Regions from separate parts of the Homo sapiens genome. Here regions 1, 2, 4, 5, 6 and 7 are each linked to region 3. Evidence: promoter capture Hi-C in 16 types of primary human blood cells and fetal thymus (Javierre and others, 2016). All regions are on one chromosome and are shown on one strand. Each heading gives the region's core, a stretch centred on a gene start or on the middle of the fragment in contact. The rest is flanking DNA. Distances are from core to core; before and after follow the strand shown. Region 1 has its middle 85 kb from the start of OSTF1. Region 2 overlaps OSTF1 (osteoclast stimulating factor 1). Region 3 holds the start of RFK (riboflavin kinase). Region 4 overlaps NMRK1 (nicotinamide riboside kinase 1). Region 5 has its middle 100 kb from the start of OSTF1. Region 6 overlaps OSTF1 (osteoclast stimulating factor 1). Region 7 overlaps OSTF1 (osteoclast stimulating factor 1).

Region 1 (3,304 bases), core at 414-2,913, 1.2 Mb after region 3:
ACATAGTAACTAACCACCGTACTCTGTGAGCTAGTACAATCATTGGAGATATTACTGAATAGAACATAGAACAAAAGATAAAGCTTTTGTTTCCTAAAATCAGCATAGGAGCATAAAGTAGGTATATATTTTGATATCCTGATAGAACTTTTGTCATCTTTATTAACTCTATATTTCTTCAAGGAATGTTTTCCCTGGTTTCTTCAATAATTATAACCACCATAAGTGCTAATGATAGCTTTTCAGAGGTATATGAATTCTAGTTTTGCTATTCTAGCTTTGTTGAAACATTTTTTAAATAATAACTTGTCTCTCTATTGCTCAAGAAGTCCGTTATGAAGCATTCCCAATACCAGTTGTCGCTAGCAACAGCTATCAGGCAAAGGGTGGGAAAGAGCTTTCTCAAATATTAAGTTAAACCCTTTCTTCTCTTCCCAGCCCCTACCCAGCACTCTCTACTTCCATAGGATAAAGTTAAATGACTGGTGATCCAAGTACCTGAGAGAGGCGGCGTGTCCAGCCTTGAGAGATGAGGTGTAACCCAGATTATCTTCTGGTCACAGTTTTTGAAATGAAGGACAGAAGATGTAGGCTGACTTTCAAAATTGTCTTCAAATATCTAAAGGGCTGTCATCTCGAAAAGGCAGATTTAATTCCAAAGTAACAAAAAAAATCTTGGAGGAGTGTATGAAAGTCTTGGTACAATAAAACTACACATTCTCTTTCTCTTAGAGCTAATTAAAAATGTAATGAGGTGCCTCAGGAAGTAGCATTTTTCCATTCCCTGGAGGGGTAGGTAGCAGCAGGGTCTGGATAACTATTTTGTGGAGATGTTACAGAAGGATTCCCACAACTATCGGTCAGGGACAGGTTGTTTACATGATGTCCAAGTGTCCTTTGGACGGTATATAATTTACAGTCCAAATAAAATTCACTTCTTGTTTTCATGCCTTCTTTTACAATCTATGTATGTAAAATCCTTTAGTATGTGATATATTAACCATTCCTTCCCAGGTATGGAATGGCTTTGAGGTTCAAGAGACCCATGCGGCAGAATTTTGGAGATGAATAATAATTACTGAAGAATGGCTTACAGATCCTGCAGACTTGTGTTAAGGCAAAAAGTCCAACATGCCATACAAATGGAGATATACAGGAATTGGATATAATAAGGTGTGGCATCTATTGGTTTGGGGGCATAGGAAAGTCAGTGCACAAAGTACAGTGTTGGAAAGCAGAAGGAAAGTAAGCCTGGTAGGAACCTTGAGCGTAGTAGCATTTATTCACCATGATTAGGTAAGAGATCACTGGGATTATTGGGATTAAATATTGGGATAGTTATGGGCATGGTTGTACTATTAGGCTGGAGAAGGGCTTCAGTCACTAAGGAAGAGGCTGTCACAAAACTAAAGACTACTATCTCCACATAGATCATTCTCACAGGGAAAGTGTTTCATCTTTACCAGAAGAATAATTAGAAAATTATGAGCTCACCAATGACCTTGATATTGCCAAATACAGTTACCATCCTCTGGGCTAATCTTACTATTTCTTTCAGCAACTTTTCACACAAGTTTTCATTCCCGTCTTTTTTTTTTTTTTTTTTTTTTTTTTTAAGATGGAGTCTCACTCTGTCGCCCAGGCTGGAGTGCAGTAGTGTGATCTCAGTTCACTGCAACCTCCGTCTCCCAGGTGTAAGTGATTCTCCTGCCTCAGCTTCCCAAGCAGCTGGAAATATAGGCCTGCGCCACCATGCCTGGCTAATTTTTGTATTTTTAGTAGAGATGGGGTTTTGCCGTGTTGGCCAGACTTGTCTTGAACTCCTGACTTCAGGTGATCCACCCACCTTAGCCTCCCAAAGTGCTGGGATTACAGGTATGAGCCACTGTACCCGGCCACATTCCTCTTTCTTTCTTTAAACATTTTCCTCTCTTGGTTTCAGTGGTTCTACACTGTTCCTGCTCCCTCCTCTTTGTCAGTTTACTCCACCCACATTCCCTTTGCTGGCCCTTCTTGACATCTGTTGTAAAGACTGGGAGTCCTCAAGCCCCATAATAACTATTCTCTTCTCATATCATTAAACACCATCTATGCCACCCATACACTGATCACCCCCGCCAATGTCTATCTTGAGGCCAGACCACACCTAACAGCTCAACGTATATATAGGTTATATACCTAACTGCCTACTTGACATCTCTACTTGTGTATTTCACACCCTTAAACTCAAGATGTAGAAAATACATTGTTTGATTTTGCCCTTTGCCCACACTATTCCTCATACCCCCTCCCCTCCAAATCTGTTACTCTCTAACTCTTCCCTATACCAGTAAATGGTGCATCACCATAGACTCAGTTATTTAGTCAGACACCCAAGAATTTTCCTTGACGTCTACTTCTCCCTCACTCTACCATATCCAATCTATATTAACAAGTTCTGTGAGTCCATGAACAAAATATATCTAGAATCCATCCACTACCCATTTTTTCATAGCCACAACCCTAGTACCAGCTACAGCAGACCTTGTAATGGTCTTCCTAACAGCTCTCCCCATACCTGCCTTGAAGACCTTCAATCTACTCTCCATCCAGCAAATGCCATAGCTCTTTCAAAAAGTAATTTGTTTATCTAACATGTGTTTCCATTTCTCCCCATCCCAGCCCCAAATGGCTCAAAAAGAAAAAGGCTTACAGAATTTTTACTGGACTGTAGGAACAGGTGAGGTATCAGTTCTTACAATTTCTAAGATGCAATCTTTCAGTTCTCGTTAATTCTTTTTTTTCTATTACTCTTTTCCTTTTCATGTGTCAATAAAATGCCTAGGAAATATATCCTCATCTGCCAAAGGAGTCCACTTTTTGACATGTGTGCTAGCCAAACTAGCCCCATAGTGGTCTTTTTAAAGGATAAATCAATTCAAGTGAATCTTAAAACTTAAAACTTTCTATGACTTCCCTTTGAACTTAAAAATAAAATCTAACTCTTTACTGGAACTTATAAGATCTCACAGCAATGCTTCTCAAACTATCTATGGTAAAGAACCAGCTTGTTTTTCTTTTTTTTTTTTTCTTTTCAATTTTCAATTCCTCTCTGATGGATACTTTTATAAGATAAAATAAAAATGAATTACTAGAAAAAATGAAACCAGAAATAAGACATCAAAATATAAGTCCAATTTTTTCATTAGATTGAAGAGCTATCAAACCACTATGTCAAATCATTTAAAAGGCTTTACAAGCTTATTTTCAATTTCTGTATTTATCCCATCATCAAGGATTGACACTGACCTGGATTATTTGGCTT
Region 2 (3,376 bases), core at 877-3,376, 1.3 Mb after region 3:
CAGCTGCCTCAAGCTCCTTGCCCCATGCTTCCCAGCCCTCTGATCACACTTTGATAACATCTCCTATCACAAGCACTGAGATTTTTCTGTTTAAGACATGCTCATACATTTTTGGTAGGGAAGTAAACTGGTATGACCTCTTTGAAAAGCGATTTGGAAATTTCTATGAAAACAGCAGTGCACTTACCCTCTGAAACAACAAATCCCACTGCCAGGACTTTATCCTATGGATTTACGTGTGTAAGCAACAACAATACTATTGGGAGACTATTTGTTATAACAAAAGATTGAAAACAATCCAGAAGTACGTTAATTAGGGTCTGGTTAAATGAGCTCAGCAGAATACTATGTAGTTATTTAAAAGAACCAGGAAGTTCTCCTGGTTCTAATATTTGTGTTGTATTGTTTGTTTGTTTATTTGAGACAGGGTCTCGCTCTGTCACCCAGGCTGGAGTGCAGTGGCACGATCTTGGCCTCCCAGGCTCAAGTGATCCTCCCACCTCAGTCTCCTAAGTAGCAGGGACTACAAACACGCACCACCAAGCCCAGCTAATTTTTTCATATTTGTTGTACAGAAAAGGTTTCACCATGTTGCCCAGGCTGGTCTCAAACTCCTAGGCTCAAGCAATCTGCCTGCCTGGGCCTCCCAAAGTGCCAGGATTACAGGTGTGAACCACTGTGCCTGGCCTGTACATTTTTCTGAAACTCCTTTAATTTGATAAGAGAATCTTGACACCTCACTCATATCAGCCCACTGAAAGGTGTCCCTGTATCATTTTTTTTTTAATGTAGTCTTTCCCTGTCCATTAAGCAAGTGAGGACAACTTTGGCAATGGGTTCTGTTATGCCCTGAGGTATAAGGTGTGTATTAGAAAATCTCACTGCACTAGTCACGTAAGTCAAATTGTGGGAATGCTGAAACGCCAAGGGAGGGGACCCCAGTATTTCCAGAAGGGAGGAATGCTTATCAGAAGCACATAACCTCCAGCCTTTGCTACTTTGTAGTAAAGCTACAAGAAAAGCCCAATCACAGTCTCTGAGTCCACCCCCACCTTCTTTCAGGGAAAAAAAAAAAAACCCACCTTTTTTTTGTATCAAAGCGTTTTACATTATCTGTCATTCATAACGATTTAGTGGCTGTGCAGTTACAAAGAAATAAAAGACTGTTCCACTCTCAAAAAGTGCATAGTTTAATGCTCTAATACGGATCCATTGAAAGAGGGCAGTTACACAAACCAAATACCAATAATACAACTGCATAAGCTAATAAAATGACTGTCCAACAAAAGCAGGTCCAACCCAATAACATCTCTGGCAGGTTTCTCTGCTCATATGCATGGACTCAATTAAAGCTTCTGTTCCACTTCCAGGTCACACCAACCACTCACTAGCTTTGAGATCTTAGATAGTTTACTTGACCTCATTAAGTACTACTTCATCCATAAAACAGGGATATGAGGACCCACCCACCTGATAGGAAAGTCAGAATAATTAAAGGAGACAGAGCATACACAGTGCTGGGTGCAGTGCCTGACATATGGGGCCAAATATATGTTAACCATTCCCATCATCATCATCATTGTGAAATTTTCAAGATGTTTCTCAGGCTTTATTCTGCCAACAGGTATAAAAAGTATCAAGTTTATAAAAGAAGACTATTCACGTGCATATTTCACCTCACTTTTGATTAATTCCTTTGTTGGGGTAAAAAATACATAAAAATTAAGTTCATTTTAGATAAAAACCTTTTTTTCTCAAAAATGTTATTTAAGCAGCATGCGTGTGATGTCTTTTAAGTTTTATGATGTTTTTACTCTGAATAACAAAAAAACCTGAAACACTGACATTTGCTTCTTCAAAGTTCCATGAATTTATTTTCACAAGGCACATGAAATATTTATGCTTTACTTTCACCACCAAAATCAATAAGCCATTTGGAAAAAATGGCCAAGGTCAGACACCAGGTTTCCAACTACAATAGATAGTTACCAAACCTGCTTAGAATGAGATGATTCTACAGCCCAAATCTCATTCAGTATCCTTTGGCCCATTCTTACTCTCAGAATAAAATATTTTTAAAAAGATTTTACAAGAACAAAAGTTCTGTTTTCTACACTTCTACACTCTAACAAGCCAGACAGATTCACGCTAATTGAACTGCAAGGCTTCTGAGAGTGGCTGAAAACAACATAAATGCTATATGTGTAAAACTAAGAGGTTGTACTCATTCAGAAAAAGGAAAGGAGGGTCTCAGCCAGGTTTGGTGGTGAGCATCTATAATTCCAGATACTCTGGAAGCTCAGGAAGGAAGAAGACTGCTTGAGCACAGGAGAGCAAGACCAGCCTGGTCAACATAGCAAAATCCCATCTCCAAAAAAAAAAAAAGAAAGAAAGAAAGAGAGAGAGAGAAAGAAAGAAAGAAAGAGGGTATCATAAAGAATGAGCTGAAGACCACGAAATTGCAACACATCTTAGTAGAGTACCATGGTGGCACAGATAACAGTTAAGGGAGAAAGTTTCAATGACAGACCTTGTGTGGCCAAAAGTGATTCTACAGAAACAAAATCAGTAAGCAAGGAAAGGTCAAACTGCGACAGAATTGATTTTTCAAGCAGAATGCAGGCAATACCGTATAGCCTTTTGGAAACATATGCCAACCAACAGCAAGACTTTTCAAACGGAAGCTGAGACGCTGTTCTGAGGGTAATTGTTTTTATTTTCTTTTTTGAAATGAAATGGATGTGAAGAAGAAAGAAACCTGAAAGAATATTCAACCAAATGTAAATAGTGATTATCAGTAGATGACAGGGATGATTCCTATATTTTAGTTATATATTTATTGTTTACCTTTTTCTAAATTTTCTAAAAATAAAAAAATTATATTTTTACTTACAAGCTTTTTTAAAAAAAACAAAATGAATGAGATCAGCCATCCACTTGTAAATATGGGATACTCTAGGTAATATCTGTAGATACATACGTCTTCCCCATTAGACTCAGGACCCTCGTGAATGACACCATAGATTATTGTTCCTGGGAACCCCAGTGTCTAGCACAGGGCCTAATATATGAGCTACATTTATTAAGAAACATTTGTTTAGCAAATGAATTCTGGATATGGCCAAAAACCCAAACAAGGTAACCCTGATCTATCCTCCAGATGGTACAAAAATGGCCAGGGTCTCCCACTAGCATCTGCCCGGGACTTCCCTGGGCAGCCTCCTTCCACAAATCGGCCCCCTGTTGGGGATGTGCTGATCAGCCAGAAAGATGCTATTAGCCTGCATTATAGCTTAATGTCCCTTGTTTTTAATATCTTCCAGCAAGTCCTTTGTCCTTACTCACCTAGCTCCTTTCCTTTTAGTATTGTCTACTG
Region 3 (3,203 bases), core at 3-2,502:
CCCTTCCCTTCCCTTTTCTTCCCTTTCACTTTCCCTTCCCCTTTCCTTTCCCTTCCCTCCCTTCCTTCTTCTTCTCTAGTTCTTTTAAGGGGTGAGGGTGTCTCACTGTGTCGCCCAGTCTGGAGTGCAGTGGCGTTATCATAGCTCAGTGCAGCCTCGACCTCCTGGGCTCAATCAATCCTCCCGCGTCGGCCTCTCAAACTACTGGGAATACAGGCGTGAGCCACCAAGCCTGGCCTAGAACATAAATTTAATATCAGGTAAATCTTATCAGAGATGCATACATGTAAGGTAGAAAGAGACTACACGGTCTGCACAGAATTTTATACAAATGTATAGAGCAAAAAAGAAAAAAATTAAACTTCTCTGGATTCCATTGATTAAAAATTTAAAAAAATAAATAAAAAACTTCTTTGTCTTCGAGACGTTAAGAGGATGCACCTTCTTATAACCTTGCACCCTGCATATCCTGTGAGTGAGCCCAGAGCTACTTCCCTAGGAGCGTGCGTATTTACAGTTCCGAGGGTACGAAGGCCTCTATCTGCATTGCAGTAGAGGGACGGCCTGTTATCGGGCTTGTGAAATTGTCAAGAAGACAGCCTGGAGGGGACAGTCACCGCCCATGTCGGTAACCTTCCACTAGTCTCTGGGGTTAACAGCGTCACAGACAGGGACTTCTCCCTTGGAGCTTACATTCGAATATATTAATAACTCCAGAACGTGGTCAGTGGTCCTGGAGGACGACCGCTTCTGGTAGGGCGGCCAGGAAAAGCCTCTGTGAAGAGGCGATCTTTGAGCTGAATTTTGGAGCTTTAATAAATACTTAAAGAGCGAACGGAACGAGCGATGCCTGACGTTCAACCCAGCGGTTGCCAAGGAGCTAAAGAGCGTCTCACTTTGGCTTCCGGATTGTTATGAACAGGAGGAAGGAGAAAAAAAAACCAGAATTGTTCGAGAATTGTGCTTTCGCGGCTCTCAGGCTGAAAACGGGGTTTCCACATTAGTTCCCATCGCCAGGGGCTGAAACGAAGCCCGGGATCCAGACATTAGGCGCCTGGGGCGGGAGCCTGCAGCGGGAGCTTGCGGCGGGAGCCGGGCGAGGCAGCGGCGGGGCGGGGCCATGATGGGGCGGGGCTACGGAAGCCGAGCGGGCTCGAGGCGTTCGGCTGAGGAAGGGAGCGCACGCCGGCGGCGCGGAGGCCGGCTCTGCGCTTCGGGCCGCCCCCTCCCCCCACCCCGCTCACACCCGGCACTTACTTCGGCTGTCTCCGCTGCCCTCCAGCGGAGACGCAGCTCCTCAGGCGCCCGGCGGTATTTGTTGGGTCGGCGGCGTCAGGGATTCGCAGTGGCCTGTGGTCGGCGTCGTCCGGCCACTGGTGCGCCCCCGCGGCAGGCAGAGCTCACGCTCCTGTCCCCCGGCTGGTCCGGGGTCTGGGCGCCGCGTCGACGGCGGCTCCGCAGGACGCGCAGACCGGGCCGCAGCCCATTCCCCGAGCGGACTGCATTATGAGGCACCTGCCTTACTTCTGCCGGGGTCAAGTGGTGCGGGGCTTCGGCCGCGGCTCCAAGCAGCTGGGCATCCCCACAGGTGAGAGCAGGGCGGCCAGAGTCCCCCGGGCCGGGTCACGTGGGGAGCGGGGAGAGACGGCAGCCGGGGACTTGGGACCGGGGCGTGGGGCCTCCGGACCGCGGGCAGAGAGCACACCCTTCCTCCTCCCGCATCCCCTTGTCTGTGGCGGAGGACCGTTGGCTCGGTTGAGGGAGCTTGTCCCTGCTTCTGGCTCCGAGCTCCGCGGGGACGGGGTTGAGGGGTGGTGAGGGCCGGAAGCCCGAGATGAATCGCAGGATTCCCCGTTCACGCCTCCTTGGCCAGCCAAGGTACAGTTGGTCAAGCATTGCGCTTGTCTTGCCCATTAGAGACGTAACGTGGGCCAGAACGGCTGAACTCGCAAGCCGGGTCTAAGGTGGTTTTGTTTTTAATTTGTAATTATGTAATGTCCAAATGATAACATAGGTAGTTGAATGAGAGTCAGCTAACCTTCTTGGTCTGTCTACATTAATTTCAATAATCGAGACCTGACTGTAATTCATCCTTAGAAATACATGCCAGAGCTGCGTCTTGACTTGTTAAGTCAGCCTTGAGCTTGTGTATTTGAAAAATAAGAAGCTTTGGCCGGGCGTGGTGGCTCACGCCTGTAATCCCAGCACTTTGGGAGGCCGAGGCGGGCGGATCATCTGAGCTCAGGAGTTCGAGATCAGCCTGGCCAACATGGTAAAACCCCGTCTCTGCTAAAAATACAAAAATTAGCTGGGCATGGTGGCGCGTGCCTGTCATCCCAGCTACTCGGGAACCTGAGGCAGGAGAATCGCTTGAACCCAGGAGACGGAGGCTGCAGTGAGGCGAGATCGTGCCACTGCCCTCCAGCCTGGGCGACAGAGTGAGACACCGTCTCAAAAAAAAAAAAAAAAGAAAGAAACTTTTCAGGTGATTCAGTACCTGGTTAGGAAAGAACAGATCTGAAAAAATCCATCTACTCTGGTACTTGTTTTTTGCATCCTACTCAAAGAGTATGGATTTTTTTGGAGAGCTTTATATACTTACCTGGTACTTTATTCATAACCTATTCACATGAATAGGAGAGGGAAATCTGAGCCGGAAAATGGAAGGATGGGATTGATACTTACAGGCAAAGTTGTAGGAGTCTTGTGAATGTAATGATTTACATTAGCCTTGCATGTGATTTTTACAAATGTTTGTTTCTTATTATTATTTTGAGACAGAATCTGGCTCTGCCACTCAGGCTGGAGTGCAGTGGTAGTGCGATCATAGCTTACTGCAGCCTCCATCTGCTGGGCTCAACTGACCCTCCTGCCTCAGCCTCTCTGGTAGCTTAGACTATAGGTGCAGGCCACCATCCCCAGCTAATTTTTTAATAGAGGTAAGATCTCACTATGTTACCCGGGCCGGTCTCAAACCCCAGAGCTCAACATGAGCCTCCTGCCTTGGCCTCTCAAAGTCCTAGAATTACAGACATGAGCCACTGCACTCGGCTACAGGCATTTAATACGAAATTTGTAAGACTCAAAATATTTTCTTCTGTTGTTTAGCTAATTTTCCTGAGCAAGTGGTAGATAATCTTCCAGCTGATATATCCACTGGTATTTACTATGGTTGGGCCAGTGTTGGAAGTGGAGATGTCCAT
Region 4 (3,361 bases), core at 186-2,685, 1.3 Mb after region 3:
CTGTCGTTCTAACTGCCATTGAGTTAAAACATGTAGTACATGTAGTCCTAATCCTGTTTAGATTCAGCCTCTGAGTGATTTCCCCATTATCCTGACCATTCATATTTTACTTTATCAATTGTGTGTTTCTGTCAACATAAAGTTTCCTACGTGTTTTGATAGTACAAGGGTCTATCAGCCTCCAGACTCTCCGGGATACTTTGATGGCCATGTGTGGCCCATGTATCTAAAGTACAGACAAGAAATGCAGGACATCACATGGGAAGTTGGTAAGTGCCTTTTCTCCTTCTGTTCAAGGCCTTTTACTTGTCATTTGCCTCAAAGTATAGAAAAGAAAGGACTCATAGAAAAGTATAAAGGGATGCTTAAGCAAGAACACTCTGGGCTTCTCCTTTTCCATAGCTGGTTCTCCTGGTTTCTGTTTCTCTCTGTGGCTCTTGTCAGCTTCTGGATGGTTATTCATTCAACCAGTATTGAATGAATGCCTTCCAGTGCTGCCCTGGAGATGGTGAGGGGAATGAGGCAGACCCAGCCCCTGCTCTTATGCAGGTAACATTCTATCATGGAAACAGGTGCTAGAGATACCAGCGGCCCAAGCCTGTCCTTTCCAGCTGCTGTAAGTTCTGCGACACCAAGTTCTAGGGGACTGCCGAGATCCCGGTAGTCAGGAAAGGCTTCCTTGAGGAAGTCACATTTAACCAAACTTCAATGAGTTTAACTGAACAAAGGAGATGGGTTGGGGAGATAGAAGATTACCCCAGAAAGTGGGTGTGGCACACGAAAGGGCCAGGGGACAGGAAGGAATGAGAAACCCCTGAAAGAAAGCTGGTGTTGAGAAAGCTTTCTAGTAAAGAAAACCAGGGGAGTGGATTGATGCTAGTGATACAGGCAGGGTCCAGACCCTATAAGGCCAATAATCTAGGTAAGGACTTTGATCATTGTTCTCAGAGAAGTAAGAAGCTCTCTAGAGAGAAGTTTTAAACAAGGGCATGATTGATAAAAATTCTTGTTTTAGTTAAGACCCCTCTGGCTGTGTGGAGAATGGAGGAGGATAGATTTATAGGGTGTGATGTTGGACGCCCGCACTCAGTAGAACTGGGTGATAGAACAGCTATGGAGGGGGCGGGAAGATGACAGATGCCTCAGCAACTGACAGATGTTAGAAAAAAGTGAAGGCATTGCAGACCTGTAAGGGAGGAATGCATGTCTCTTTTGCACATAATGAGGTTGAGGTGCCTGGGAGACATATGTAGCAATTTGGAGGTAAGCATCCGGATCTGTGGGCTTGAGCTAAGAACAGATCACTGGAATAGGGCACTCAATGCAGGGAAGATGGCAGAAGGCTGTTGGATAAGGCAAAGGAGTTAGAACTGATGTATGCTTTTCACAATAAAGGGGACTTGTCTGTGTTGTGAGAAGCCTGTTGGCCTCCAGGATAGGCAGCTATGTCAGAGCCATGTGGAATGCACACAGAGTGTACCCCCAGGGCCAATGCTGAGATTCTGGCTGCACCACGTCCAACTTGGACCATTGGTTGCAAGAACATCCTCTTGCTTCCCTTCTCTCCCTTTTACCTAAAATGCAAATCTAATCAGGCTCCTGCTCTGCTGAATACCTTGAGTCATCTCCAGATCTTTGAGATACAATCCAAACAGCCAGACATCAAGGCCTCTAACGACTGAGGTACTGAGGTACACCCTTGCTCTAAAATCTCATCTCACGCTGTTCCTGGAGCTTCCCCATATTCTAGCCATTCCAAAGGGTGCATCAGTGCTCTTGCCTCTCCCTACTCATGCTGTTTTCTGACCAGAAGGCCCTTTCCTTCCTTTAACCTAGACAACTTCTACTTTTTCTCCAAAGCTGCTTATGCCAGTTTTATTAAAAATACGTCTTTTCTCTGATAGCAGAAAACACACACACACACACACAAACATACACACACACACAATACATATTTTCTGAGCCTGGTGAATTCTGAGTTTGTACATATGTTGCAGATCCCAGACCACTGCATTGTTTAAGAAGCTTCCCAGGTGATCCTGATGTATAAGTATGTTGAAGAATTACTCCTTAAGTGACCCTTTTGGGTGAACACCTTCAGTGCACCTAAAGTGCCGTATGCACAACACCACTTTCTTTCTTCTGTTTCTTTCCTCCTTTCTTCTTTCTTTCTCTTCTCTTTTAATTAAATAATTTTCACATAAGCCAGTGTGGATTTATCTGTAACAATCCAATATTTTTGACCTATTATAGCTGGCTAGCATCTATTTCTTTCTTTAATCACTATTAATTTCCTTTTAAGTTATGGTCCTGGGTGCCTTGGTTAAACCTATTGGCATTTACAAGAGATGTTGGGTGTCAAAGTAAACATTGTATATTAATAAGCCTGTTAGCATTTGAACTGCTCTCTTTTCCCCTTCGTAGTGTACCTGGATGGAACAAAATCTGAAGAGGACCTCTTTTTGCAAGTATATGAAGATCTAATACAAGAACTAGCAAAGCAAAAGTGTAAGTATTGTGCTAACAAAGTGGATGGTAGAGGAGAAACAGCCAGGAAAATCATTCATTACATATGAAAGAATGGAATACCAGAATGCTAGTGTAGGAGTGATTGTGCTCATCCATTCTTTGCTTTGAGGATAATTCAGAATCAGAAATTCTGGGGGGGGGTTTGGAGACTCAATTATTTTGTCTGTTTTTAGGGGTAAAACCATGTACCCTTTGTTACATCTCTTAATGCTATTTATGTGATTTACTTTAAAACTTTTAGTAGATGGCTGTACCAAATGGGACTGGAAGTATCCTTTGGGCACAGTATAATTAAAATGCTGATGATTTTTTTTAGTATGTCCAGAGCTCCCCTTTTCTTTTATTCCCTTAAAGACTTTCTGTAAAATTTCTACTTTCCAAATACCTCAAAGATAAACAAAAGATTTTAAAAAGTATTATGAAGTGTTTGTTTAAGGTTTTCATATTGGACGGCACTGTTTGCAAGTGACAGGGATCTGCCTAAATATGGCTACAGCAGAAAGACAGTACAGGGGTAATGGTGGCTTCAGGCTCAGCTGGATTAACTCATTTATGCCTAGTGTTCCATTGTTGGAACTCTAAGCTTGTAGGAGTTATTTATATCCTACTGCTGAAGGTCATCACCAAGGTCTCGTTTTTCACAAAAATAATTTGCAACCTCCAACATTAATGGGTTAAGGAACTCAAATAAGGTCCTCAGGACTCTGCTTCTATTCTACTTTCTATTTAGGGTTTATTTTGAAGTCAGGCTCTCCACTGACCTGATGTCTGTTGACAACAACATCCTCCTAGGTCCATCAGTCCCAGGGTAAAAAGATATCTTTTTCAAGAT
Region 5 (3,314 bases), core at 544-3,043, 1.2 Mb after region 3:
GAGAAAATAATACTCCGTACATAATTATAACCAAATGATCCATATTGACCCAAAGCCTTACTGAACTATTGTTGAGATAGAAATATCTGGACTGTAGTAAGAGTCTTGGAAGTGCTAATTCTCACCCTCTCCCTCTACCTCCCACTTTTTCTCTGCCTCTGTAATCATCCAAATGCAAAAAGCCCTAAATCAACACTTGGCAAAATCCTCCTAACATTATTTTGAGACGTTTCTGTTTACTTGTGAGTTTTAATTCCTCTGCAAGGAGTTCTTCCCTGCTCTCAAATCCCGAAATGTACTAGAGGATTCTATCACTCTCCTCCTCCCTCCAAATCCCAGAACTTGGCCCATCGAAGACCCATAACCTTACCTTCCCTCTGATTCTCTTCTGCTCCTCCCAAGTCCAGGCAGACATTATCCAGTATTTATGTGGGAGAACTGGCTCTAACTGTTCATGTGGTTTTCCAAACTTTGTGTTTGCCTGGTCTTAACTTCAAAAATACAAAAGTTAAAAATTACTTTTCTTTTACCTGCAATCTGCTCTGTGTCAGCCCATCTCTACGGTATAAAGATAAATTTCATACTATATCAGACTGACGAAGAGATACAAAACCTATAGGGAGGGAATTTTAGTTTATATCTCAAAATATTATCTTGCCACTTAAGCAAATAAAAGAGAGAGATAGAAAGGAGGAGGAAGGAAAGAAAGAGGAAGGAAGGAAGGGAGGGAGGGAGGAAAGTCATCAGATTTAATTTAAAAATTAGATTACCCCCATCATCTAACAACACAATCACTGGGAACAATTTTGGTATATATCTTTTCAATTTATTATCTATATATCCATCTATATATTTCTACTATGTCTATCTTTTGCTACCTGTAGGTTGCAATCTGCTTTATTGAATTTAATAATTCACTTCTCTCATGCTTGACAGCATTACTCAATTCTGAAAAGCCTTTCTAAATATAAAAAAAGTAAATTTAAATTTTTTCTTTAATTTTTAACGAAAAAATTTATGACACTTTTTTATCTTAACCTACCTTACCCAAACAATTTTCACATTGCTAACTAAGCAATAAAAACAAGTTTATACAAACAGCAGACAACAGTATCCCAAAGTATCTGAATATGGTTTGTATATTGACTAAAATATAATAAAGATCTATTGTACTCACAAAATGAGGACAAATAGTCTTCGTAGTGGATGTTGGTTGGGGACAGTTGTGAGAAAGTCATTCTTTTGGAAGATGAATTTTCTATACACCATTTTCTTTACCAATTTTTCACATTTTCAGGGATTCATGATTATATTTGGCACTCAAATTAGAAATAATTGGACTTAGAAATAAAGTTAGATCACTGAAAGCTATCTATAGGGTAAAATAAAGGCTAAATCTTTGTATTAGTCTGTTTTCATACTGCTATAAAGAACTGCTCAAGACTGGGTAATTTATAAAGGAAAGAGGTTTAATTGACTCACAGTTCAGCAGGGCTGGGGAGGCCTCAGGAAACTTACAATCATGGTGGAAGGCACCTCTTCACAGGGCAGCAGGAGGGAGAATGAGTGCAAGCAGGGGAAATGCCAGACGCTTATAAAACCATCAGATGTCATGAGAACTTACTCACTATCACAAGAACAGCATGGGGAAACCGCCCCCATGATTTAATCACTTCCCACTGGGTCTCTTCCACGACATGTGGGGATTATGGGAACTAAAATTCAAGATGAGATTTGGGTGAGGACACAGCCAAACCATATCAGTTTTATAATTCTTAGCAAAGTATGGAAAGAGCACACAGAGACACTATGTCTTTACCCCACTGGATTGGTGAACCTACACAAAGCAAAGTATTTAGAATCACCTAATGTGGTGCCCAATTCTACTTGTTTCACATTATATTATTTGACTAGAAACTACTGTGTTGAGAAAATTGGTTTGGTTAACATGGTTATCCTAAAATCATTTGGTTAACATGGTTATCCTAAAAGCATAATGTTTAAACAATCTGGTTTGGTTAACATGGTTATCCTAAAACTATGTTTTAGGATATAATGTTTCATATCGCATATTTACTTAGTATTGCTTGGGTGAAAAATAGTTAAATTTTTTTAAACATTGTCTGAAAAGTTGTATAACTGTGAAATAGCCAATATGGCCAAAAATTGTTGAATGAACAGTCATTATATGAAGTAAATCTATCTATGGAAACATCATTTTATGCCAGTAAATATGATTCTACAGCAATATTTTAAATGGCTGCATAAATTCCATTACATAAATGTACCAAAATGTATTTAAACAATTCACAATTATTAGAAATTTAGTGATTTTTTTCCAGATTTCATTGTTGTAAACAATACTATGCATGATCCTTCTTGTGGTGAAGTCTCCTAAGAGGCTTTTCATATTAAAGTATTAGCCCTTTTATCCAAAGCTAGATCCCAATTCTTCTGATTCCCAAGTTAGTATTTTTCTCTCTACGCCAAATTGAGGAGACAGGGATCACACTAAATTTGCTGTACATAGATTGACACAACCACAGAAACAAACAAGCAAAGATTCCCATGAACACACACATATTAAAAGTAAAGGCAAAACTGCAATTACTTTTGTACCAACCTAATAGAAGTTTATGTTGATCGTTTGATTCAGAAGAATGCAATTCTCACTCCAGAGTAATTGACCAACGGTTTATTAAATAATATGCTTTTCAGAGGAATATAACCAAGAAAAAAATTTACTTCTTGTCCAAATTTGTCTTCATAGTTTAGTTTGGAAATCCCTTCTGAAAGACTCAATGCTTTAGGCTAGAGTTTCTTTAAGAGTTTTTCAACTTTCCTTGTTAACCAAGTAAGGGAAAACTGTGTTATGCTAGAAAAAAAAATGGCCTGGTTCCAATTCTTTTGCCTTTACCTTTGTTCCTTCATTGACTTGTAAAGGTAATTAATATGGAAAAACTCTGGTGATCCATATGGCCAGTGTTCTCCACTAATTAAGGTGTTAGTTCACATACATACACAGACACATACATGTGTTACCTGGGCAACTATACACAGAAGCAGAAATTAATTAACATGATGACAAATATAATTAAAGCAAGAACCTATGGCCTTAAAATGGTATTATCTGGTATCACCAAAAGAGTAAGACTGAATGTGTTTTCATTTACAGAGAAGTAAATGGCTTCAAATTCCTATTTCCAATTCAGTTATGACATTTTCCTGATGAAGCATACGTCCTGGCCAGAGTACTGTGTTATAAACAAGCAAATTTCCTGTAAATGTTACAAATCTATTTCAAATCTAACAGG
Region 6 (3,452 bases), core at 770-3,269, 1.3 Mb after region 3:
GCGATCACAGCTCACTGCAGCCTCAACCTCCCAGGGCTCAAGTGATCCCCCAGCTCAGCCTCCTGAGTAGCTGGGACTACAGGCCCACACCACAATGTCTGACTAATTTTTGGTACTTTTTGTAGAGACAGAGGTCTCACTTTATTGCTCAGGCTGGTCTCCAACTCCTGGGCTCAAGTGAACCTCCTGCCTTGGCCTCCCAAAGTGCTGGGATTACAGGTATAAGCCACTGCACTCAGCTGAGTTTATCTCTTTTGCGCCATTCTAAGTTAATAAATCTTAGTTATGGGGCACCAGAGGAGAAAGAAGAATTTAAAACAAATACCTGTTCCCTGTTTCTTTTTCAGGAGAGATGCACAGGCAGCATTGGTAGCCATGTCGAAGGCCAGCTTCTTCTCAATGTTTCTTAAGTCTGTTCTAGCACCTTCCCAACACAAGAAAAGTCAATTAGGTGTCTTTGAAGACTATATAGTAGTAGCCAATCCTCTCTCCCCACAGCTAACAACTTTTGGCAAAATAAACTAGTGAACAACTCTGGCTCAGAAGTAAACGTTCTCAAAACAATAAACTTTCTCATGCAGTATAATTTGGCATCTTTAATCGGGAAGCTTGTTGCTGCACCTGTGATAACAATTAATTCCGAACCTTTTGAGTCCCTATAGAATTGCATGTGAACTTTTCAGTGAGGAGTTTATGGTCCCTGTGGGGCTTGACTTCAATGAGCCCTTTGCTTCCTCTTTTGCTCAAGAGGGTCTTTAGAAAAGACCAAGTGGATAGTGCTTGAGGGGATTAATATTTTATATCTGTAAGTCTGCTCTCATGCAAATTAACAGAATAGCAACACGTAAAACCAAGAGGCAATTCATTATTCCCATAAGCCATCTTCTACCCACTTTTCCTTTGCCTTTATTGTGTTCAAAATTACATCAGAATTCATGAATACATTTGCATTGTTAAGGATTCAAAAATACAAATGTATGCTGAACAAAAGCACAAGTCCCATTTCATTCCTTCATCTTCTACCTACGCCTAAGGTAACCATTCTTAACAAGTGGGTGTGAGTTCTTATCTCCCTTATTTGCATCAGTGCATTCATACACATATTGATATAGACACAAAATCGTACTACACGTATTGGTCTGTGATTTCATGTTTTTAAAACTTTAATGTCTAATGGTACTGTTTTCTTAGCAAATACACATATTTGTAACTCAACCATTTAAGTATTCCATTTTGTGGTGCTCCAAAATTTAATTACTCCTGTATTGACGGGCACTTAGGCTACTCCTAATTTTCATTATCACAAATACTCCAGTGAACATCCTTGAACAACATCTTTGTTCACACGTATTTCTGAAGAATGGTTTACTAAAAATGGTATTGGAAAGTCAGGCTAAGTCCATTTTAAATTCTGACAGCTACTGTCAGATTGCTTTTCATACTAGTCTCTAATGATCCTCTGAATTTCTGTGGTATCAGTTGTAATACCTCCTTTTTCATCTCTGATTTTAAGATTGCTTTCCAAGAAGGCTTTAGGCCAAGCACGGTGGCTCACGCCTGTAATCCTGGCACTTTAGGAGGCCAAGGCGGGCAGATCATTTGAGGTCAGGAGTTCAAGACCAGCCTGACCAACATGGCCCATCTCTACTAAAAATACAAAAATTAGCCAAGTGTGGTGGCGCATGCCTGTAATCCCAGCTACTTGGGAGACTGAGGCATGAGAATCACTTGAATCCAGGAGGCGGAGACTGCAATGAGCCAAGATTGCGCCACTGCACTCCAACCTGGGCAATAGAGCCAGACAGTCTCAAAGAAAACCAAAAAAACAAAAAAAGAAGGCTTTGTCAGTTCATACTTTCTGCCACAGTGTAGGAAAGTATCATATTTTTTTTGCAACCACTTCCCCTTCAATAAACAAAAATAGGCCAGCACAGTAGCTCATCCGCCTGTAATCCCAGCACTTTGGGAGGCTGAGGCAGGCGGATCGCTTGTGTTCAGGAGTTTAAGACCAGACTGGGTAACATGGCGAAACTCCATCTCTACAAAAATTAGCCATGTGTGGTGGTGCACGTTTGTAATTTCAGCTATTCAGGAGGCTGAGGTGGGAGAATCACTTGAGCCCTGGAGGCGGAGGTTGCAATGAGCCGAGATCATGCCACTGCATTCCAGCCTGGGCAATAGAGACCCAGTTTCAAAAAAAAAAGAAAGAAAGAAAGAAAGAAAGAAAGAAGTGTCCCCAAATTTAAAGGCAAAGAAATATTGCATCAAGAAAAAAAATAGTATGTTTAATTAGTAATATAATGATCTTGTGTCAAAATCTTTCTCCTAAGCAGATCATTCTATTCACAGTAGGGTTATATAAAACCTCATTCTCTCAGTGTGCTACAGATCAAAAACTCCTGAGGGTTAACAGTTCTGTGACTAATCATATACTATATTATACTTTAGAGCTCATAGACATGATTTCTATCAGAACAGGAAATATTCAGAGACAGTGATGATAAAGAAGAAACACAACTATTTCCTGGGTCCCTTTAGATGAGCACTAATAGGAATATAATGTGATCCACATATATAATTTTTAATTTTCTAACAGCCACATTTGCAAAATGTGAAATTATTTTTAATTATATATTTTATTTAACCCAGCATATCTGAAATATTATCATTTCAACACATAACCAACATGAAAATTACTGTGATGTTTTACTTTTTGTTTCACTAAGTCTTTGAAATCTGGTATGCATTTTACACTTACAGCACATCTCAATTCAGATAGCCCCATTTAAAGGGCTCAGTTGTGCACGTGGCTAGTGGCTGCCATATTAGGCATCAAAGTCATCAGTATACCCTTTACAGGGCACTAGAGTGATCCTCATAATGTCTGGCCTTTTAGACCTGCAGCTTACATCACCAGCATACTTAAAATCTAAACCATTTCCTATCATATATCCCACAATATTGCTCTGAGGATCCCTAATGAGGGTAATTCCATGACAAGTGTCTTGGGGACTCAAGCATCCTACATGATAGGCTTCTGGACTAGAGTATGGTATAGGTGATCTGCCTGGCCTTCTCTAAGAGTAAACTAATATTTGTGGGACAAAAGGATAAAGGGATAGTCAGTTTATAAATTCACTGTTTCCTCTGACTTATAAAAACAGGGGATCAAGATATCCTCTCTCGTTCACTTTACATCTAGCACCTGCTCAGCTCAAAGCAGGACATTGCAGCCGCATCATTCTTGCTTATCTGTCAAGACTTCCCTGTGAGAACAGGGGCCTCAGCAACTTTACCTATACAGCTTTCTCAGACAGGATCTCCCCAACACACGTGTACACATACATTCTTTGTTTCTAAGGCTCTATAATCCTGCAGAAACATACAATACAGTTCTTACTAAAAGTAATATATGTAATGTTAAAGCTTGCCATGGTTTTAGTTTATATTAA
Region 7 (3,505 bases), core at 993-3,492, 1.3 Mb after region 3:
GGTGGCACACACCTGTAATCCCAGCTACTCAGGAGGCTGAGGCAGGAGAATCGCTTAAACCCAGGAGGCGGAGGTGGTAGTGAGCCGAGATCACACCATTGTACTCCAACCTGGGGAACAGGGAGAAACTCCGCCTCAAAAAAAAAAAAAAAAAAAAAAAAAAAAAAGCAGTAAACATCTTAATAGATCACCAAGAGGAAGTACTGATCAATTCCAAGTTTACTTGTTCTTGTGTATGCAAGGAGGCTAAGTTAGATGCTTTCCTCGGGCTCCCTCAAGCTTGATCATTGTCTCATCAAAGTCTAGTGACATATAACAAAGAGGAAAAATGGAGCTCAGAAGACTATATAAATAACCTGAAATTACCCTGGAATTCAACTGAGTTAAGGTTAAAACGAGGCCCAATCTTTTGTCTGAGGCTTTAGGTGAACCTTGCATGAACCTGCACGTATTAGCACTAAGGATCTAAGCAGGGCTGGTCTCTTCACGTAAGCAAGATCAGCACAGCAGCAGCAGCGGTGCACCTGCTGGCTCACTTCACTGGCTCCTCACCTTGCCAGTCCCACCCTTCTCTGTTCTGTCCAACCCCACCCAGTCCCTGAAGAGAAGGGTGAGTCCATTAGTCATCAGCCAAACACTGTATTTTCCTCTGGAGTTGGGATGACCCTAGACTTCCATAAATGAATCCCTGTTCATAGTGGTAGAGGCAGGGCAAAGGCAGAGAGAAGGGTTCTGCAACAGGATATTCTACAGGCAAAGGGTAACTAGGTGAAATTTCTGCTCTAAGTTATGCAAACAGAGTATGTGTCAGCTCATTTTTGAGGCCCTGAAACAGCACTTAGGCGGGCCTGGGGCTTACAAATTTGAGCAAAGAATTTCTAATCTATTTTATTTCCTGTTGGTGAAAAACTGGAGAAGCCTCTAAAGAAAGCCACTCAGATATCATTAAAAAGGGATTGGGGCCGGGCACGGTGGCTCACACCTGTAATCCCAGCACTTTGGGAGGCCAAAGTGGAGGACTGCTTGAGCCCAAGAGTTCAAGACCAGCATGGGCAACACAATGAGACCCCAGCTCTACAAAAAAAATTTAAAAATTAGCCAGGTGTGGTTGCGGTTGGTACACACCCATAGTCCCAGCTATTCAGGAGGCTGAAGTGGGAGGACTACTTGAACCCAGGAGGTCAAGGCTGCAGTGAGCCATGACTGCACCACTGCACTCCAGCCTGGATGACAGAGTGAAATCTTGTCTCAAAAAAAAAAAAAGAAAGAAACTGCTCACTATAAGAGACAGATACACAGATATACGATAAACAGCAAGAGGAATGACTATTTAAAATATCAGCCCCTGGCCATCTGTAATAGATAGACTATTTCACTTATGTCTTTTTAAGAATGTTAAGAAGTGTGAGACACTTAGATGGGCTTCACTTACAATGGCTATGATAACTACTACATACTCACTCTGATGGCTAAAGTGAAAAATACTGACAATGGGATAAATCAACTGTGGTGTATTCAGACAATGGGATATTATTCAGCACTAAAGAGAAATGAGCTATCAAGCCATGAAAAGACATGGAGGAAACTAAAATGCGTATTACTAAGTGAAAAGTCAACATGAAAAGGCTATGTACTACATGATTCCAACTATATGACATTCTGGAAAAGGCAAAACTATGGAAACAGTAAAAAGATCAGTGGTTGTCAAGGGTTGGGGGAGGTACAGTTGAAAAGGCAGTGTACAGTGGATGTTTAGGGCAGTGAAACGACTCTGTATGATACTCTAATGGTTTATTAGAGTATCACTGCCATTACGCATTTGTCCAAACCCATGGAAACCACATCAACAAGAGCAAACCCTAACATAAACTATGGATTCTGGATGATGATGATGCATTGATGCATCAATGAAGATTCATCAATTCTAACAAATGTCTTTTTAAGAATGCTGTATCTGGTGAGGGATGTTGATAATGGAGGGGCTACACATGTGTGGCAGCAGGGGTATATGAGAAATCTCTGTACCTTCCACTCAATTTTGCTGTAAAACTAAAACTGCTCTAAAAAAAATAGTCTATTAATTTAAAAACAATACCAGCATTGCTAAGCATTATAGAACAAATAGAATTCCCAGATACTGCTAGTGGGAGCATAAATTAGTACAGCCACTATAGAAAATTGTTTGGTGGTAGCATTAATTCATTGTTACTAGTCTTAACATGCCTTGAGACCTTAAGTTGCATTTTTGGGAGTGGAACATAACTAGAAATCCCTTCCGGTCATCTTCCGTAGGAAGAAAATATTGCATACAAAAATAACCCCTCCTCACTGTTTCACTAATCCCAGAACACAGTGAGTCACCTCAACACTTTTAAACTGAAGGTCATGACCTATTAGTAGATTGAGAAACTAATTTAGTTGACTTTAAGAAAATTAAATGGGTCAGAAAGACCAGTGTACACTATACATAATAGAAGAAATTACAGTTTTGTGAAATTTTGTCTTATTGGGCATGGACAGGTAGATGGATATTTAATTAATAAATTTACCAAATACACATTTTTTGGCCTAATGCCAAATGACCAAATGCTAAAATTAATATTTGCCAAAGCCAAATGTGGCTTTAACAGAATGAACTACTGGGATACAAGAATAAATCTGAAACCTGGCCGGGCATGGCGGCTCATGCCTGTAATCCCAGCACTTTGGGAGGTGGAGGCGGGCAGATCACTTGAGATCAGGAGTTGGAGAACAGCTGGCCGACACGGTGAAACCTCATCTCTACTAAAAATACAAAAACTAGCCGGGCGTGTTGGCGGGCACCTGTAATCCCAGCTAGTTGGGAGGCTGAGGCAGGAGAATCTCTTGAACACAGCAGGTGGAGGCTGCAGTGAGCCAAGATTGCACTCTAGCCTGGGCAAGAGAGTGAGACTCCACCCAAAAAAAAAAAAAAAAGAATAAACCTGAGATTTTATCCAAAAAAATAATTAAAATTACACTCTTATTACTAAAATTCCGGTAGACTCACTTTAAAAGTTTGATATAAAAGGGCAGAAATGGTAATTCCTTGGTACTGTTAACTGCAGCCTGATGGGACTTCTGTAAAACTAAACAAATCCTCTCTCTAAAACAAGGTCTGTAGAAAAAGCAAGATGTTCTTGCGCTAGCTCTGCCAGAGTCACTGCTGCCGGAAGTGACGCTGCCAGCACATTAGTAAGCTATCCTTCCTCCCTGATAGGAACCAACTGAGGTCAAGACTTAATCTCTTCATCTCCTGGGCCTGAATATTTGCTTAATGATGATGATATAATGTCACTGAAAGTAGTCCCACAAAGAATACAATGGATTCCCCAGAATTACTAGCAATCACACTCTCTCAACATTAATTCTCAATCTATGCCTGTAATTTTTACTCTTTATATAATAATTTTCATACTTAAAATTCGGACTCATTATCATCATTAATTATTAAAATAATTTACTCCTCCAACAATGAATAATCATT

Evidence for each region. The method cuts DNA at HindIII sites, captures the fragments that hold promoters and counts their contacts. A CHiCAGO score of 5 or more calls a contact.
Region 1: a fragment that was not itself captured here is called in contact with the fragment with the promoter of RFK in region 3 in 1 of 17 cell types (naive CD8 T cells); the score reaches 5.3 in naive CD8 T cells.
Region 2: a contact is called between a fragment that was not itself captured here and the fragment with the promoter of RFK in region 3, in 7 of 17 cell types (activated CD4 T cells, non-activated CD4 T cells, naive CD8 T cells and 4 more). The highest score is 9.1, in activated CD4 T cells.
Region 4: a contact is called between a fragment that was not itself captured here and the fragment with the promoter of RFK in region 3, in 1 of 17 cell types (non-activated CD4 T cells). The highest score is 5.7, in non-activated CD4 T cells.
Region 5: a contact is called between a fragment that was not itself captured here and the fragment with the promoter of RFK in region 3, in 2 of 17 cell types (total CD8 T cells and activated CD4 T cells). The highest score is 7.1, in total CD8 T cells.
Region 6: a contact is called between a fragment that was not itself captured here and the fragment with the promoter of RFK in region 3, in 2 of 17 cell types (non-activated CD4 T cells and activated CD4 T cells). The highest score is 6.2, in non-activated CD4 T cells.
Region 7: a fragment that was not itself captured here is called in contact with the fragment with the promoter of RFK in region 3 in 2 of 17 cell types (monocytes and M0 macrophages); the score reaches 5.9 in monocytes.

What each region holds. Positions count from the first base shown.
Region 1 is chr9:75,172,024-75,175,327 of GRCh38, reverse strand. No RefSeq gene overlaps it. Among named protein-coding and RNA genes, the nearest start is that of OSTF1, 85 kb to the right of the region's middle. The HindIII fragment of the contact is 3,156 bases long and covers 86-3,241 here.
Region 2 is chr9:75,092,074-75,095,449 of GRCh38, reverse strand. The region is part of intron 1 of OSTF1 (osteoclast stimulating factor 1); the gene reads right to left. Among named protein-coding and RNA genes, the nearest start is that of OSTF1, 5.2 kb to the right of the region's middle. The HindIII fragment of the contact is 1,544 bases long and covers 1,355-2,898 here.
Region 3 is chr9:76,392,475-76,395,677 of GRCh38, reverse strand. RFK (riboflavin kinase) reads left to right here and starts at 1,252. Exons shown (of 4, transcript NM_018339.6): 1 at 1,252-1,588; 2 at 3,109-3,203. The coding sequence starts at 1,507. It also overlaps a transcript of GCNT1 not described here. RefSeq lists enhancers at 594-833, 1,011-1,305, 1,168-1,981 and silencers at 1,114-1,173, 1,194-1,273, 1,314-1,803. The HindIII fragment of the contact is 5,359 bases long and covers 1-2,169 here.
Region 4 is chr9:75,065,904-75,069,264 of GRCh38, reverse strand. It overlaps NMRK1 (nicotinamide riboside kinase 1), which reads left to right. Exons shown (of 9, transcript NM_017881.3): 7 at 163-269; 8 at 2,425-2,508. Among named protein-coding and RNA genes, the nearest start is that of NMRK1, 21 kb to the left of the region's middle. The HindIII fragment of the contact is 1,185 bases long and covers 843-2,027 here.
Region 5 is chr9:75,191,432-75,194,745 of GRCh38, reverse strand. No RefSeq gene overlaps it. Among named protein-coding and RNA genes, the nearest start is that of OSTF1, 100 kb to the right of the region's middle. The HindIII fragment of the contact is 3,842 bases long and covers 1-3,314 here.
Region 6 is chr9:75,137,806-75,141,257 of GRCh38, reverse strand. OSTF1 (osteoclast stimulating factor 1) reads right to left here. Exons shown (of 10, transcript NM_012383.5): 9 at 326-424. Among named protein-coding and RNA genes, the nearest start is that of OSTF1, 51 kb to the right of the region's middle. The HindIII fragment of the contact is 2,818 bases long and covers 611-3,428 here.
Region 7 is chr9:75,108,474-75,111,978 of GRCh38, reverse strand. The region is part of intron 1 of OSTF1 (osteoclast stimulating factor 1); the gene reads right to left. Among named protein-coding and RNA genes, the nearest start is that of OSTF1, 22 kb to the right of the region's middle. The HindIII fragment of the contact is 3,922 bases long and covers 282-3,505 here.